Linked DNA regions of Homo sapiens: region 1 is linked to region 2. Evidence: promoter capture Hi-C in human tissues and cell types (Jung and others, 2019). All regions are on one chromosome and are shown on one strand. The core of a region is centred on a gene start or on the middle of the fragment in contact, and the rest is flanking DNA. Distances in the headings are between cores, read along the strand shown. Region 1 holds the start of PTGIR (prostaglandin I2 receptor). Region 2 holds the start of PPP5C (protein phosphatase 5 catalytic subunit).

The links. The method cuts DNA at HindIII sites, captures the fragments that hold promoters and counts their contacts. A contact is called where the count stands out against the background at its distance.
Region 1: the fragment with the promoter of PTGIR here is called in contact with the fragment with the promoter of PPP5C in region 2 in 2 of the 25 tissues and cell types used here (mesenchymal stem cells and small bowel).

Annotation. Positions count from the first base shown.
Region 1 is chr19:46,623,658-46,626,357 of GRCh38, forward strand. PTGIR (prostaglandin I2 receptor) reads right to left here and starts at 1,432. Exons shown (of 3, transcript NM_000960.4): 1 at 1,340-1,432; 2 at 1-580. The coding sequence starts at 568. RefSeq lists an enhancer at 1,647-2,147. The HindIII fragment of the contact is 28,599 bases long and covers 1-2,700 here.
Region 2 is chr19:46,345,526-46,348,472 of GRCh38, forward strand. PPP5C (protein phosphatase 5 catalytic subunit) reads left to right here and starts at 1,562. Exons shown (of 13, transcript NM_006247.4): 1 at 1,562-1,692. The coding sequence starts at 1,572. RefSeq lists enhancers at 1,400-1,579, 1,680-1,809. The HindIII fragment of the contact is 31,019 bases long and covers 1-2,947 here.

The DNA of each region.
Region 1 (2,700 bases), core at 182-2,681, 280 kb after region 2:
CGGCGTAGGCCAGCGAGAAGGCGGCGCCGCCCGGCTGGGCCCAGCGCATGCGGAGGAAGCACCAGCTGCCGGGGCAGTACTGCTGGTGTTGGCCCAGGCCCAGCAGGGGCAGCGCGCAGAAGAGGACGCAGAAGGCGTAGATGGCTGGCAGCGCCAGGCGGGCGCAGCGGGGCCCGTCCAGCTGCGCGTAGAGGTAGGGGTGGCTCAGCGCCAGGCAGCGCTCCACGGCCATGGCAAAGAGGATGAGCATGGACGCCAGGCCGAAGAAGGTCATGGCGAAGGCGAAGGCATCGCACAGGGCGGGGCCGCCTCGGGCCAGGCCCAGCAGGGAGCTGTTGCGCGCATAGGCCACGAACACGGCCGGGCTCAGGAAGCTGGTGCCCAGCAGGTCGGTGGCCGCCAGTCCGGTCACCAGCACCGCGAAGGCCGAGGGGCGCGCCGGTCGCCGTGCGCTCAGGATGCCCAGGGCCAGCCCGTTGCCCACCACACCGGCCACGAACATCAGGGTGCTGGTGGCCGGCCCCACCGAGCCCCGCACGTAGGTGAGGTTCCTGCACGAATCCGCCATCCCAGGTCTGGGCTGGAGGGTTCCCAAGGTGGGGGGTCAGAGGGAGCCAGGGCTACCCCCACCACCCAGCCCACTCAGATGTCCCTGCTGGCCAGTCCTTTTGGCAGCTGGGGCCTCCCAGCCAACCCCCAGTTCTCCTGTGTGTGCGGGTATGCAGTCCTCTCCCCTCTGGCTTCTCCAGTATCTCTCTCTGTCTCTCCCCACCTTCCTGTTTCTCTTTCTCTCTTTCTTTTCTTTCGTTTCTTTTGAGACAGAGTCTCACTCTGTTGTCCAGGATGGAGAGCAATGGCATGATCTCGGCTCACTGCAACCTCCACCTCCTGGGTTCAAGCGATTCTCCTGCCCCAGCCTCTGGAGTAGATGAGATTACAGGCGTCCACTACCACGCCCAGCTAATTTTTGTATTTTCAGTAGAGACGGGGTTCCACCATGTTGGTCAGGCTGGTCTCGAACTCCTGACCTCAGGTGATCCATCCACCTTGGCTTCCCAAAGTGCTGAGATTACAGGTGTGAGCCACCATGCCTGACACCCACCACCCCCCCACCACCTCCTGTTTCTTTCCTTCTCTAGCTCTGTTTCTGCCATTAAAGAGACAGAGAACATCCGGGCATTGCCAGTTCTTTCCCTCCCTGTCTCTCGGTCTCTTGCTGATATCTCCCTGTCTCTGTCCCCTCCCTTGTCCTTGTCCTCCCCGTACCTTTCTCCCTCTAACCCCACACCCTCTACCTGCTCCTGCTCTGTGTTGCTGCATCCCCAGCCCCTCACCGCACCTCTCCAGTCTTGCCCAGGCTCTCCTGTCCCGTGCGTCTGTGCCTTCACTTGCTTTGCTCCTCGTGTCTCTCGCTGCCTGTGTCGGTCTGTGTGTCAGCTTCTCCTTCCCTCCTCCCTCCGTCCCTCCCTCCTTCCCACCCTCCTCAGCTTGCCTGCTCACCCCAGCTTTTTCATTTCCTCTCTCTGCCCCGCCCTCCCTCACTGTTCTCCAGAGGGCCCCCTGGCACACTCCCCACTCCCCGTCCACCCGCCCAATCCAGGACATCCATCTCCCATCGCTGCCTCCACTCTCCTCCCCACATCCTCTCTTGGTTCCCATCACTGAGCCACCTGCCACCTCCCCACACACAGGTCTCCTCCCTCCCCCAGTGTCTCCCTCTCTGGCCTGGGTGGGGAATTCCTGAGTCACCATCACTTAGGCTTGGAGCCTCCCGGGGTAGTAGGGGGCCTCTAGGAGGGACCTGAAGAGCACAGTTGACCAGGCTTCAGTGGGGTGGTCTTGGCCTGGGCTGTCTCAGGGTGGCCTCTGGGATCTATTCTGGGCTCCAGGCCCCGGGGCTGAGGACATTGCCCAGGGATTGAGAAATGACCAGGAAATTCCTCTCTGATGTAGTGTTTTCCAGACACCACTGAGAGTTCTGGTCCCTGGACACAATTCACTCCTTCCAGAAAGCTGAGGAAGGAGGCTTGGCCAGAGAGAGACATGCCAGTCCCTCGAGCCTGTCCCTGGGCACCCAGCTCACCCTGCAGAGACCCGAGAAGAAAGCATGAAGGGGTGTATTTGGTGTCCAGTTGTCAGGGACAGGCTTGGGAGACTTCCATGGCCCATGATGGAAAGGTAGCACTGGGCCACCGTCCGACTTCTCGCACAGCACCCCTAGGCCCCAGGCCAAGCTCTGGTGACCTTGACCTTCAGGAATCATATTTTGATCACAGGAAGCTGTCCACAGCTCCAACATTGCTGCCATGTGTCCCCCACCCTCCCCAAACACAGCCAAGCCACCACCGCTGCAGCCTCGGGCCAGTGTGACAGACCCACATGTTCCCGCTACCCGCACAGCGTTCACGGGTCTCCCTTCCCACGGAGTCGGTGGCTTCCCAGGCAGCCTCCCAGCCCAAAAGGGCCAGATAAAACCTCAGAGACCCTCTCTGAGCCCCGCTGTTTCTCAGGGGGACGGTCTCAGATCCATTCGACTTGGCTTCCTGTTTCCATCTGACCACCTTTTTTCTTGCTGCGAGATGGTCCCAGGTGAGGAGAGGGAGCTGGTAGACTTCAGCCTCCTTCTCTGTGCGTGGGGTAACACGGGCCTCAGGGACCTGGTGGCCAGCCTCGGCCTGCAGCACATCCCAGATTGGTCTT
Region 2 (2,947 bases), core at 312-2,811:
TAGAGTGGCAATGAAGGACATAGGAATTAGATGGGATTCCTGATCCTGGCTCTGTCACCTTCTTATGTTGTTGTGACCTTCGTCAAACACCTCTGCAAGTCTGTGTCTTTATCTGTAAAATGGAGATGATACTAATATCTGCCCTTTAGGGTGATTGTTGGTTGTGCTGGGGGCCAGTAGGAGAGATGGGGTTGGACTAACAAGAGGTTTGGGAGTGGGATAGATAGGTTTAGGAGTGTGCTTCCAGGAGGGGATCCAGAGCCTTACAGGACTTAGTGCTACATGAGGGCTTAGAAAGGACAGACTGGAAGCGTGTACGGCGGGTGGGGATTGGCAAAGGGGTGGAATCTGGATATTAGACTATTCAGCCTGAGGTTAAGACTATTCAGGGTCTCCTAATCAGGAGTTTGGGTTTTCTCCTAAGGGTGCTGGGGCCATGGAAGCCTGGGAGCGAGAGTGTGCCATGGTTTTATCATGTCTTAGAAAGATCCCTCGGCCGGGCACGGTGGCTCACGCCTGTAATCCCAGCACTTTGGGAGGCCGAGGCGGGCGGATAGCTTGAGGTCGGCAGTTCGAGGCCAGCCTGGCCAACGTGGTGAAACCCGTTTCTACTAAAATACAAAAATTAGCCGGGCATGGTGGCGGGCGCCTGTAATCCCAGCTACTTGGGAGGCTGAGGCAGAAGAATCGCTTAAACCGGGAGGCGGAGGTTGCAGTGAGCCTAGATGGCGCCACTGCACTCCAGCCTGGGCGACAGAGGGAGACTCCCTCTCAAAAAAAAAAAAAAAAAAAAAAAAATGTGAAGGGTAAACTGGAGGGAGGCAGAGTGCATGCAATCAATGCTGTGATCTCAGACAAGAGAATCTGTAAAAACACAAACAGGAGAGTTTATTTGAAGATTCAGGATTTGGGAAGCTGAACACAGGAAGAAAGGAGATGGTGCAACACACTTCTAAGCCTTGCTCAGGACTTGAAATCCAGAGTGCCTTCAGTTAAAAACTCAAACACTGACCCTCAAGGTTGGACCCTTTTTGGCTTGAGAAACCACTAATTTTTCAGAGATGGGTAACTGAGACCCTAGAGAGGAAGGGAAGATTTGTTCAAGGTCACACAGGTAGTCGACAATAGGGCTCGACGCCCGGGTCCGGCTCCGCGTAGGGCATGGCGCTGCCTTGCAAAACAGCCACACCCGCCAGCGACATTCACAACCCACCCCCCAACCCTAGAGGACAGCGGGGAAATCCCACTTTCAGAACCGAGAAACTTTTTACAGCCTTGGAACACGGTAACTTTGGGAGGAGAGGCCACACCAGGTCTGTTTCCCCGCGCGCCCCTTCTCTCATTCCCTATTGGCTCTCTCTACCAGGGGTACCGTCTGGGGAACCTCTGGTCACCTTGTCCTCCGCGCGCTCTGTGGCGAAAGGGACCTGCGCAGGCGCGTGAAGGGCGCCTTCAGGGCCCGCGCTTTACGACACTTGTGCGGCAGCGGCGGCGGCCACCCGGCGCTCCTTCGCGACGGTTCGGCCGGGTGCCGCTGGCGGCCGTTGCCAGGGTAGGGGTCGCTTTGCGGCATGGCGATGGCGGAGGGCGAGAGGACTGAGTGTGCTGAGCCCCCCCGGGACGAACCCCCGGCTGATGGAGCTCTGAAGCGGGCAGAGGAGCTCAAGACTCAGGCCAATGACTACTTCAAAGGTGCGCCCGCCTGGCAGGGAGGGTGGACAGTGGCCCAGGCTGAGGGGTGCCGGGCCCGCGCGGAACCATAGCAACGCGGAGCTGCAGCCTGGGCGCGGGGCAGACACTACCAAGTGACCGGGCGTGGGGAGGCCCAGGATGGCGCTGCCAAGGAGCGACATAGGGGGCTTCGGAGAGTGATACCTAGGAGTGGCGTGCGGAGCGGGTGCTACTCAGTGGAGAGACTGAGGAGGGCGCCACCAATTGTGGGGCGAGAGGGGGACTGGAATGAGGGCGCTACCAAACGTGAGGCCTGTAGAGGGCGCTACCAGGCAGTGACATGTGGTGGGGGAGTGATTGATGGCGCTACCAAATGGGGAGTCCTGGGGTGGGTGCCGCCAAGTGGGGGGTAGAGGGGGCACAGCCCCAATAGAGAAGGCAATCGTGGGGGTGGGGAATGGATCATTAGATGGGGGGAACAAGGAAGTAGGAGATTTGGGCTGACCCGAGGAAAAGGAATGTGATGGTGGGGGCCTTGGGAGTAAGGGTGGGGATCCTTAAGAATAGTATCACTTAGAATATTGAGAGTCAAGTGTGGGGCACCCATTCATTCATTAATTCAACAAATATTTATTGAGTACCTGTTATGTGCCAAGGACTGTGCTTGACTTTGGGGATATAGCAGTGAATGAGACAGATGTGGCCCTGTCCTTAGCTTGTAATTTTGCAGGTGAACCAGACATGAAAAAAAAAAAAACAAAAAAAAACCATGTAAATAAGTAAAATACTTAAATTGTGATGAGTGCTTTGAAAGCAAACCAGCAGTGTGATGAAGTAGAGAATAAGGGTTGGAGGCTACTTTAGATAGGGTAGTGGGGGAAGGCCTTACTGAGCAGGAGGCGTTTAAGCTGAAACTCACAGAGGGAGAACTGGAGAGGAGTGTTCCAGGGAGGTAAAGCAGCCTGTGCAAAGGCCCTGGGATGGGGAATGAAAGGGTACTGGCATGGCTGGGGCTTTGGCTACTTAGGGGGAGACCAATAACAAGATGAGATTAGGACAGAGGCCAGATCATGCAGGGTCTCCGTGAGTCATTACAAAGACCAGTTTGGAATTTTTTTTTTTTTTTTTTTTTTGAGACGGGAGTTTTGCTCTTTTTGCCCAGGCTAGAGTGCAATGGCGCAATCTCGGCTCACTGCAACCTCCGCCTCCCTGGTTCAAGCGATTCTCCTGCCTCAGCCTCCCGAGTAGCTGGGATTATAGACGCACACCACCATGC